Linked DNA regions of Homo sapiens: all the other regions are linked to region 3. The links are contacts of gene promoters, found by promoter capture Hi-C in human tissues and cell types (Jung and others, 2019). All regions are on one chromosome and are shown on one strand. Each heading gives the region's core, a stretch centred on a gene start or on the middle of the fragment in contact. The rest is flanking DNA. Distances are from core to core; before and after follow the strand shown. Region 1 has its middle 36 kb from the start of STRIT1. Region 2 overlaps SSR3 (signal sequence receptor subunit 3). Region 3 holds the start of GMPS (guanine monophosphate synthase).

Region 1 (4,205 bases), core at 1,589-4,088, 540 kb after region 3:
TGTTTAATCTGGGGAGAGGACACAGCCTGTGAACAGTTGTCTACCAGGAAATGCCTCACATAAAACAACAAAACAAAAATAAATAAATTATCACAAATTAAGAATATAGAGCAAATATCAACAGAATGGTACTGGCCAGGTGCGGTGGCTCATGCCTGTAATCCCAACACTTTGGGAGGCTGAGGCAGGCAGATCGCAAGGTTAGGAGTTCGAGACTAGCCTGGCCAATATGGTCAAACCCTGTCTCTACTAAAAATACAAAAATTAGCTGGGCGTGGTGGCAGGCCTGTAGTCCCAGCTACTTGGGAGGCTGAGGCAGGAGAATCACTTGAACCCAGGAGGGGGAGGTTGCAGTGAGCTGAGATGACGCCACTGCACTCCAGCCTGGGTGACAGAGTGAGACTCCGTCTCAAAAAAAAAAAAAAAGAAAAGAAAAAAAAGAGAATGGTACTGATGGTACTGATAGAGATGGGTACAAGAACTGGAAGGAGAACATCAGAGCTGAAGACTATTACCCTAAAATCTACATAAATACAGCATATTCCTGAAGTGGATTCTTTGAGGATTTACATGTAAAAAGAAATCTACTAATAATTAATAGTAGTACATTATTATTTTTATTTCTGAAACAAACAGTCCCAAGCTCCCTATCAAAAGAATCCCAGGTATTTCCATCAAAACAAACAAATAACTTATTGGAACTTAGCAATCTTGAATTGACAAGCACAGATCCAGGGGAATATGGCTATGAGCAGATGACAAGAAGGTATCATCTGTAGGGTTACTTTCATCCTTAAGCGTGTTACCCTTGACTGTTTTAATAAATATTTCCATGTAAGTTACAGAGCTTTGTGCTGTCTGGTTGGGACTTAAATTGGCTCTCTGAAAATGGAATATATGCCAATTCTCAGTGTTCTCATGGCTTACAAGTGAAACAGATGAACAATATTATGTGTCATGTTGATTTCTGTTTGATAATGATAAATGTTGGTGTTTCCTCAAAAATTAATTTGCTCCATATGTTGGTTTCTGAAAGACTGAAATAGTGGATCACTTTTGGAAATGGCATCGATAGCATTTTCTAATCTTCATATTGATTACCACCTTTGGTTGATATATATTACTAATGTTTGTATACACATGTGTATACATTATACATTTCAAGATCTATGTGCAGAATAAAAAGCCCATGTTTATTTTCAAATATACTGCTTTCATGACTCTCATGACTCTCCGCTCTGGCTTCAGCTGAGCAGATAAGCGGCCCAGTACGAGTTGGTTCTGTTGCCCTGGAAGGTGTTTCACAGTAGCAAGGGCCCTTGGTATTGGAAGAGACATCAAAGATCATCAGAAGATCCCAAACCTGACAGCACATTTATGAAATTCACTGGGGAGATTAAAACTAGATATATCTCAGCCCCTATTTTGGTCTAGTAATTCAAAATATCTGGATGAGGGTTTTGAAAAAACTCAGCCAGATCTGAGAATTGCATAATCCAGTCACCTTCATGATTTTGTTAAGTCTTCAGATTTAGAGTCAAAAGTAAGCAAGTCTTGTTAAAAACCCATTATCTTGAAAATCTGGTTGTTGAACTGTTTTTGAATGTATCTGCATGGATAAACCAGACTCTTCAGTTTTTATCTGATGGGACATCATGTCCTGTTGTCCTCAATATCCTCCCACAGCAGCCTCCTCTGAGCCTGCTCAGACAAGAGCAGAACACATTTTTGTCAAATGAATTAATAAACTTGAATTTCAGATCTTTTATTGTCAAAGAGGGAAAAATGTCATTCAGAAGGGAAGGACCAGGGCCTTATTTTTTTTCTTGTACCTGAACAATGATACTGTAAAAAAGTTAGATCAGAACAAAACTATTTATATTAGATCAGAACAAAAACCATTTTATGATTTAAGAGCTTATACTGGGTTTCTCAACCTTGTGTAGGAATTAGGAAGTCCTTCATTGCTATCTGCTGGAATCAGTACTGCATTAACTCCAAATAGGCATAATTTACTGAAGCCCCTCACCTTCAAACAGCTTATATGACTAATTCCGCTGGCACTCGTATTTGCCCTAGACCCAAGACTAAATACCAGATGCCACCAGGCTGCAGTGTGGTGTGTGGGGTGGCAGGAATAAGGAGGCATGGATTTCAGCTGGGTCTGCCCCTCTCCAGTCATGTGATTCTTTTTCAGCTGCATCTCTTCTCTGGCCTCCCCAGACTACACTTCTGGTATAAAATTTGGATGCTTTGATAGTGAATTATTCTGATCCTTAAACTCAAAGTGCATCATCCCTTCCCAATTGCCTGAGGGGAGAGCAAATCTGAGAGGGAAGCAGGCTCAGCACCCTGTGATTGAGATTATGAGGGTGCCTGCACACGCGTGCCTACGGGTGTGATGCTGGAGATACAAGGGGGCCTGAGATGCACAAAGACTAATTTGTAAATCTAACAAAAAAGCCTATTTTTTAGAACAGTTAAGGTTCAAAGCAAAATTGAGCAGAAGGTACAGAGAGTTCCCAAACGCCCTCAGCCCCTGCAAACGCACAGCCTCCCACACCATCAACACCTCTACAAAGTAGTACATTTGTTATAACTTATGAACCTACATTGACAAACGTAATTACCTCTTGGCCTTTTGACTAAGATCAAGTGTAGCATCCTATTTTTATGAGGAATTGTTTGGACCCATCTGTCTCTGCAACTAACTCGTCTATCTCTCCAAGTAACCCTCTAATTACTTACACACAGACCAGAGTTCCTTTTCTAGAAACAAACTCTGTTTCTGATTTGGTAGCTCTGATAGTACCAAGCACATGGTGATAAGCTCTGGATTCATGGTTTCTTGGTGCTCCATGGCCAAGCATTCCTTCCCTCCTGGAGCTCAAGAGCAAAGCAGGAGTTGTTTTTCAGAAGGTATCTAATTCTTCATTGCATATATCATGGCCCTGTTCCAGACCTCCAGGGCCTGTGTTGCCACTCTGTGTTGCTTTTATATATAGAGAGTTATAAAGTCTATTTACTCTTCCTACCTAGAATGTTTTGAGGGGACACTGAGGAGATCATCCACCCTTCCTGCATTTTCTTTCCCCAACATGTTAGACTGGCGTGTAAATTTCCAACTTTATTAGGCATCAATTTTAGCTTAAGATTTTTGTCTCCAAATAAAATGCAAATATCCCTTAGGAAGAGTAACACCTCACAGTACATAAACTATTAGCAATATCACATTTGCATAGGTTTTTACATTTTATAAATCATTTTCACCCATGTTAATGCTTAACTTACATAATAGCATAAAACACAGCAACTCTAAGGTGATGGTGGAGATGGGACTAAAGAATGGTTGTGTGCTAGACAACATTTCCTAAATGTATACAGGACACCTCACTTAAAAATCATTGACATACAGTACGGTCTATCACTGAATTTATAAACATTGTCTCATGTATTCCTCTTGACATTTCTTTAAGGTATATATTCTACAGGTAAGGAAACCAAGGAACTGAGATTAAATGACACCTGTGTTGATGAAAAAAGCCAAACTCTGTAAAATATTTGAAGCCTTATTCTGAGCCAAATGTGAGTGACCATGGCTTGAGGCACAGTCTCAAGAGGTACTGAGAACACGTGCCCAAGTTTGTTGGGTTGCATTTGATTTTATACATTTTAGGGGGACAGAAGTTACAGGCAGACATCAATCAATACATGTAACAATACATGTAAGGTGTACAGTGGTTTGGTAGGAAAAGGTGGGACAACTTGAAGTAGAGGTGGGGGTGGGCTTTACAGGTCATAGGTGGAGTCAAAGATTTTCTGATTGGCAAGTGGTTGAAAGACTTAAGTTATTGTCTAAAAATGTGGAATCAATAGAAAGGAGTGTCTGGGTTAAGATAAGAGAATGTGGAGATCAAGGTTCTTGTTATATAAATGAAGCTTCCAGGTAGCAGGCTTCAGAGAGAATAGATGGTAAATGTCTCTCACCAGAATTTAAAGGTGCCAGACTCTTAGTTAAACCTCTCCTGGATTAGGAAAAGACCTAGAAAGGGAAGGGGATTTTCTACAGAATGTAGATTTTCCCCACAAGAGGCAGCTTTGCAGGGCTATTTCAAAATATGTCAAAGAAATATATTTTGGGATAAAATACTTTGATACTTTCAGGGCCTGCTATTTGTCATATGATGCTATGCTAGACTTAGGTT
Region 2 (3,671 bases), core at 279-2,778, 670 kb before region 3:
AAGGAAACTCCACAGGCTGCTAATCATGGAGTTTGAGTTTTAGGTAAGGGCCAAGAGAAAGATATTTGACTTAGCTGCTGATGAAACCGTGCGGGTTGCCATTAATGAGTCCTTTCTTCCATAACCCTGGTTGCCTGGGAAAAATGGTAACATAACCAGCATGATGTTTTCTTCACTATCATAGAGTGACATATTTTTTTTCAGTGGAAGAAAGGGGACAATTCTGACTAAATCTAATATTACAAACACATTCTTACCCTAGAACACTCAAGGAAAAACTTGTTTTATGATGAACTAGAGCCATATGGTACTTAAAAGTTTTTTTAAATCATATTTATAAGCTTGTTTGACTTGTTTCTGTGTCTGTAGAATCTTGTGGAAGAAGAATGAAGTTGCTGATTATGAAGCTACAACATTTTCCATCTTCTATAACAACACTCTGTTCCTGGTCGTGGTCATTGTTGCTTCCTTCTTCATATTGAAGAACTTCAACCCCACAGTGTATCCTTTTCAAGGTTGATTATCTTTTTTAGAAGTCAAGAAACAGTAGTTCATTTTGGTTTTGACTTGTCTGGATATTTTAGTGGAAAGAAAAACTGCTCTGGGAGTCAGTCCATTAAATAGTGCTGACTTTAGATAACTTTCTGGACATTTAAAATAACAGCTATTGGTTTAAGATTCTTTTAAGTTTATGAATTATGACTGTATGATAAAGTATTACAAAGTAGTCTATGGGAATCTGTGTCCTTGCCTCCTTAAAAAAAAGCTCCAAAGAGCCAAAGCAAACCTGTCATTTTTGATAGCTTCTGAAATAATAAGCCCCTGTACCTGTTATTTTTGGGCTCTGGGGGTTGGGTGGATGGCCAATGCAGTTAAATAGGTTCATTCCAGTGTATCTTAATAGTGTTTCAAGCTGCTGTTAAGTTGAGCTTTTGGGCAAGAATCAGTCTTCTCTTATTAATTTATTAAAGATGTTATCCAGGAATGTGCAGCCAAGATTTTAACAATTGGTGATTATGATGTAATAAAATATCAGATACCCTCCAACGTGTACCTTCTGGGAATGCTGGAGTGATTTGCTGAAAATTGTAGAGTTCTGAGGCTAGGAGTAGCTTCGAACTTTTAGAACCTCCTTGCTGTTGCAAGCCAACTGCAGCAAAACACTGATTTGCAGGGAAGACTTATTTTTCCATTGCTCTTAGGGGAAGAAAAGGAAAACAAATCTCTTTTCTCTCCATGTTCTTTGATCAGCTCTTCGTGAAGGTTAAATGGAATTCAGATTATTCTTTGTGATCATGTGTTCTAGGTTTCTGTCTAAAGTGTTTTTTTTAAATTGGAACACATTTCCTGTGAATGTTTTCCATTTTTTTTTGGTCTTCTGTCTTGCAAATTGTGTTTGCAGACAATGGGGCTGCACATCATTATGATTACACCAAGTGTCAGGAAGGAAGCAGTACATTCCAAAGAGATGGGCTCTTTATTTTCTCAAAAAACCAATTTGGAGTTACTCATTTTTCCATAACATTAAATTTCTTACAGGAACTACATATTGTCCATAAGTGCTTCATCAGGACTCATCGCCCTCCTGTCTACTGGCTCCAAATAGACCATGTCAGCTTCACCCCCTGGCTTTGTGTCTATGGGTGGCCTGTGGTATATGGAAAAGTAGCAGGGTGGTCAGGGTGGGAGACACAAGATGTTTTTATAGTCTAGAGCCTTTAAAAAACCCAGCAGAATGTAATTCAGTATTTGTTTATTGGCTGTTTTTTGACAGATTGTTGAAATTAAATGAATTGAAAGGGAAACTCAGAGTACTAGGACGTTTATTAAAAGGAAAAAAATGTCTTGCAATGTGCTGTAATCACAAGAGGAGAAAATAACTTGTTTCCTTGATCTGTCAGAGGTCACAGTAACCTGGGCCGAGCTGTTATTATTTATTATATAATAGTAGTAGGAAGTTAATAACTGGTTCTCTGTGTTCCAAGCACAATATTACAACTTCTTTTGAACCGTAAATATCAGAATGAATCCTCTTCCCAGGGGATTGAACAGAAGCTTAATGTTTACAAGTGTTTGAATTTGTGATCTGAAATAACACAAAATTAAAAACATGATTTCTCTAATTTTCCAACTAGAGGAAGAGAAACTTGTGGAAAAGTTCTTTTTTTTTCTTTTTTTTTTCTTAAAGAAGGGCAGCCAAGGTAGTAACCTAAAAATAGTGCCCAGGCATATGAGAGTTGTCCTACGAGGTTAAAGAACACACTGTTCCACTGTATGGCTTTGGCCCTGAGTGGCCAGGGAGGTCAACTTGACCCTGCCATGTTGGTTTGACTTACTAAGACACAGGAATCACTGTTTTCCTTGACCAGGGTCTCACACCCTGGAGGAATGTTAAGTAAGAGAAAGAACCTCTTTCCTGAATATTGACATGTAAAAGACCAAAGTAATTTTTCTGAACTTCTGCAATTCTGAGAACTCTCCAAGGAATTTACAGTGATTTTAGTGCTTGTCAGCATTTTTCCATGAGGACTTTCATACATTTGACTCTTTAGTTCACAGGTTCCCATTGATTGTGAGCAAGATATTTATCTCTTTAGCCCTTGGGGATCCAGCTGAGAGCAATCTCTTGCATTTTTTTACCCGTGTATGTACAGATATCATTTCTTGTGTATGCCATGACTTGAAAAAGTTTGGGAAGCTCTTTAGCAATATCAGCTAAAAGGATATGAAATCACAGGTGATAGCAGTTGTCATTCAGTAATTTCCTACAAGCAGCACCCCAAAGGAAATATAGTCCTAATCTTTACTATCCACTTCTAAATTTAATGTGAATTTCATACATGTTATTAGTTGTTTTCTTTATAATTTTATAAAAATTATTCATCGGGAGTTTAACTTCCACTTCCATGCTATCGGATGTGTTGGGCTCCATGCAAGAACTTGGAAGAAAAACAGGCAGGAATGCATTTGCATAATGACCCAGATCATCATTTTCTGCAACTGAGAATTATATTTCATCATTGCTTCTAGAAGTCTGCAATTCTTTACTTTTCTTTGGTGCATTATTATCTAGGTGCCATCACTGGATAATGTGGAGTGACTAGAGAAGTCACATATCACTGTAAGGTACAGTTAGGGTAACACTTTAGAGGTTTATTATTTTTAAAAAACTTTTCTTGAACTCCTGGCCAACATGGTGAAACCCCGTCTCTACTAAAAATACCAAAATTAGCCAGGCGTGATGGTGGGCGCCTGTAATCTCAGCTACTTGGGAGGCTGAAGCAGGAGAACTGCCTGAACCCAGGAGGCAGAGGTTGCGGTGAGTCGAGATCGTGCTACTACTGCCTGGGTGGCAAGGGTGAGACTCCATCTCAAAAAAGAAACAAAAAAACCCAAAAAGTTTTCTTTACTGTTGGTTAAAAAAAAAAGCCAGACCATAGTTTGACTGGTGGCATGGAATTTGTGTATCAAATAAATGCATTTGCTTATTTGACAAACCATCAGTGTCCACTATTTGTTACCAGAGTTGGGCCACTATCTTTTAAAATTGCTGGTGAAAACTTGCCACTAGATGGCAGTGCCTGTATAGATGGGGAAAAAATTGCCACCATTCTTGGTATAATACAGTGTAGCTTAGATGAGGTGGTGAAATAGGGGTATCAGCCGAATAT
Region 3 (3,972 bases), core at 1,043-3,542:
TTTAATATCTCTTTACTTAAAATGTTTATGATCACTGGCATGTTATGGTTTGTCAGGACTTTCTTCCTCAGGGGTACATACAATAATCATAGATTTGATGAAATATATTAATTCTCCAGATGTTCCTCTTGAAAATGCTTCCAATTCAGTCCACAACTAATTGTTAACATAGTTTTTAAAATGTTTAATTATGCTATAAAACATAAAGAACCTTGAAATAAAATTAATTCACCCTAGGCTCAAATATAGCAAACTGATAAGATTATCTTTGTCATTCCAACTAGAGCAAAACAAAGAAAAAATACCAGTTAGGAAAAAGAAAAATCCTCTTATATACTCTGGAAACAAATCTTATACTTTTCTGTCACTTAGTTTTGTGAAAATACTCCTCTCAAATGCACTATATATTTTTCAAAGCCCATAAATTAAATTTCAGTCCTTCTAACACCAGTTATTTCATCTATCAGCATAAAGATGAATCTTTCCAATGAGTTGTAAGACTCAAAACTAGGCAGAAAAATGCTTTGCAAGTCGACTAGTAATCGGGAAAGAGCTGGACAATGGGGTTTACATTTGCTCCTTAGGTCAGAAACTAAAGGTTTGTGTGTCTTAACAGCTCCCTGGACCTAAGCACCACTGGTGCCTTGGTTTAAAAGAGTTAAAATCAGCTACCTTATAATCTTTTACTCATTGTTCGACAAATACTTTTTGAATGATTACCGGGTGCTAAGCAACCATTCAAGAGGACCTCCTAAGATGTGACCCTTGAGCAGCACCTTTTAAAAAGAATGTTAAAATTCTGCCTGAACAAGGCACTACTATCTGACGTAGAGCACCAAATCCACCTCGAAGTATACAATCCCACCCCCCGAATGAAATTTAATTAAGTTTTTTCCTAAAGCTAGGCCCTCAACAGCGTACAGAGGAGGTGTATCTTAATGAAGTAAATCGCAATTCAAAACTGCACGGTTTCCCGCTGGCAAAACTGACTTAGTGAAGGTCAGAAAGAACTCCAGGCCAATGAAAATTTTAATACAGAGGTGAAAGCGAAGGTGCCCAATTCAAAAGCGGGACGAAAGTAAGAGGAACGGTCTAAGAAAAGTGAGTTGGAGGAGAGATGAGCAGCAGCGGTCAAACGTGCTCTCCCCGCCGGGTACGTCAAGGCGGCAACTTTTCCAGCACTCCGGAACTCCGGACTGCCCAGGCCTCGGGCGAGCTGGCACGGCTCGCGTCCCGGGGAGGGACCCCAAAGGCGGGGAAGCGGGTTACCCCGCAAACCAGCAAGCTCGACAGGGAGCAAGCTGGACGGGGGCGGGACCTGGACACACACCCTTTCCTCTCTGAGAAGGAAGCGGGGAGGGAGAACGGAGTGCGCGACCCTGGGGCCACCAGCCCTCACGCGGGCCTGCAGGGGCGTTGGGGGAGGGGGAAGACAGTGCAGCTCCGAGGGGTTCGTCCAGAACCGGCCTAACCGCCGCGGAGCCCAAGGCTGGCGGGGGGAATGGAGCGGGCCTCGCCGAGGGCAGGCGGGAAACGGGGTGGCGGGAAGACCAGAGGCCGGCCCAGCTCCAACGCCGCACAGGAGGCCCCGACCCTGCCCTGCCTTCGGCGGGCCCCGGGATCGCCACAACGGGCCCCCAGCCTCCCAGAGGGACGGGGTGGGAGCCGAGGAAGCCCCCACCCCGACACGCAGACACACAAGCCCGCTCGCCGCCCTACCCCCACCCTCGCGCCGCGCTCGCGGGCTCTGCGCCCCACAGCGGCGCGGGGGAGGCGGGGGCCAGCGACGCGGCCGCGGGGAGCTGATGCCCTCCCCGACGCCCGGACCTCGACACGCAGACAAGATCAACAAAGCATCGCCGCTCCCGAGATAAAACATGCCACAGGCCCCGACCAGGGACTCTACGACGCGTGGCTGCCCGGGGCGCAGGGCTGCGCGGACGGGCTGGGGGAAGGGGGTGGGGAAGGGCCTCGCGGGGTGGCTCCCCGGTCCGGGAGCCTCGCCTCCGCCGGGATGCGGTGCTGCAGGGACCCCCACGCTGACCTTGGAGTCTCCGTTGCACAGAGCCATCGGGGCCAGGGCCGGAGCCGCGGCGGTGACGGCGACAGTACGAGACGGGGCGGGAGGGTGCCGGAAGGGTCGGCGCCGCGGGCTGAGGTTGAGAAGGAGGCCTGGTCGAGGAGCAGCCGGCAGCGGAGAGGAGCCAGCCGCCAGAAAAGCGCCGAATGGAGCAACAGCAGCGGAGCGCGGGCCCCAGCGCCGCGGGAGAGAAGACCAGCAGCGCGCACGCTGCCCCCGCCTCCTGCTTCCGCCCCGGCCGGCCACTGGGAGGAGCCAGAGCCCGTTCGGCTTGGCAGCCGAGCCTCAGATACCCTCCGCAGCCGCCGCCAAACCGGCCGGCCCTCGAGAGGAGGGGCTCGCGGCGCCCGGCCCCGCCCCCAGCCCGGTCCCCGCCGGCAAAGCCGGCCGGGTCTCCCGCGGCCCGCCCTTGGGAGGAGGAGCCCGCGGCATCCACCGGCTCCGCCCCTCCTGCCCTCGCACCGAGGAGCCCGCCCCGGAGGAGGGGCCTGTGGCGCCGGCCAGGAGAAAAACCGAAGCCGAATCCGAGCTAGTTTGCTGCTGCCGGATTTGCCTGCTACCTTGGATGACTTCGGGAGGCTGGCGGCACCGAAGAGGCCTCCTGAGAGCTGGGCCCCTGGCGGAACTCTTAGCCGGTGGCGTGGCCTTATCTCAGGTTGCTGGACATGAAGGAGGCCAAGGCTGCTTTGGAAAGTTCCGTGGCCATATCTCAAGGATGTCATTGTAGGAACTGATCACTTAGATACTTCAAAAGTTATACAGCTCCCCACAAATACAGCAGGTGCAGTATTTCCAAAGAAAAGGGAGTTTGGGAGTGGTAATCTGGTGAGCAGCTGGCCCAGGGAACTGGTCGTGAAGCTCTGTTTGCACAACAGTGTTTTTATTGGAATTGTTTGTGGGGAAGGGGCTGCAGTCCCTCCACCTACCCCTTGGCAACCATCATGATGATGAGGTGTTACTTTGAATTTGGTTACCTAGAGGCCTAAATCGAGATTGGGGTATAAAGAATAATACTTGAGATGGCTTCCAGCTAACAAAGCCTTTCCACAAATATTTTTATTATAATACAGCCAACATTTTGCTGCAGTCATTCTTGTGTCAGACTGTAGCTAGGGTATTAAGGAGCCAGAGTGAGAAAATACTTTAAAAGCTAACTTTAACCAATCCCGTGAAAGTAGTAAGGTAGGATTGATGTTCTTATCCTTTTTACAAATGAGGAAATTGAGGCTTAGTGAGATAATGTGCCTCTCAGTATATATAGAATGTAAGGCCTGCCCAATCTGGGAAAGTGTAGACAGTTTATTAGTGAAATATTTACAAAAACGAAAGGCTTAAGGTCCTAGTGGGCCTGAGACTTAAGTATTTCGCTTACCTTTTTTTGAACGGAAAATTGAATATTTGAACTCTCCAAAGCCATGGATACTGGCTTCTCTGGGTAGGTCTGTATGCACAATCTAAAGAAGAGTGCAGTAACCAATAGGAGAACCTCAACTTACATAAACATCCACCCCTAATGGAGTGGAATGTGATGTGATATACTGGCATTAAGGATTGGCTAAGTCCCATCTATCTTAAACAATGCTTAGTTTAAATATATTCTAGGCTGGGCGTGGTGGCTCACACCTGTAATCCCAGCACTTTGGGAGGCCTAGGCGGGTGGATTACCTGAGGTCAGAGTTCCAGAACAGGCTGGCCAACATCATGAAACCTGTCTCTACTAAAAATACAAAAATTAGCCAGGCGTGGTGGCATGCGCCTATAATCCCAGCTACTCGGGAGGCTGAGGCAGGAGAATCGCTTGAACCCGGGAGGTGGAGGTTGCAGGGAGCCAAGATCATGCCATTGCACACCAGCCTGGGTGACAACAGCGAAACTCCATCTCAAAATAAACA

The links. The method cuts DNA at HindIII sites, captures the fragments that hold promoters and counts their contacts. A contact is called where the count stands out against the background at its distance.
Region 1: a fragment that was not itself captured here is called in contact with the fragment with the promoter of GMPS in region 3 in 1 of the 25 tissues and cell types used here (mesenchymal stem cells).
Region 2: a contact is called between a fragment that was not itself captured here and the fragment with the promoter of GMPS in region 3, in 1 of the 25 tissues and cell types used here (aorta).

The regions. Positions count from the first base shown.
Region 1 is chr3:155,327,992-155,332,196 of GRCh38, reverse strand. No RefSeq gene overlaps it. Among named protein-coding and RNA genes, the nearest start is that of STRIT1, 36 kb to the right of the region's middle. The HindIII fragment of the contact is 5,967 bases long and covers 1-4,205 here.
Region 2 is chr3:156,541,138-156,544,808 of GRCh38, reverse strand. SSR3 (signal sequence receptor subunit 3) reads left to right here. Exons shown (of 5, transcript NM_007107.5): 4 at 370-501; 5 at 1,540-3,671. The coding sequence ends at 1,606. Among named protein-coding and RNA genes, the nearest start is that of SSR3, 12 kb to the left of the region's middle. The HindIII fragment of the contact is 4,353 bases long and covers 1-3,671 here.
Region 3 is chr3:155,868,970-155,872,941 of GRCh38, reverse strand. GMPS (guanine monophosphate synthase) reads right to left here and starts at 2,292. Exons shown (of 16, transcript NM_003875.3): 1 at 2,045-2,292. The coding sequence starts at 2,071. RefSeq lists enhancers at 1,499-2,258, 2,798-2,847 and a silencer at 1,438-2,657. The HindIII fragment of the contact is 29,940 bases long and covers 1-3,972 here.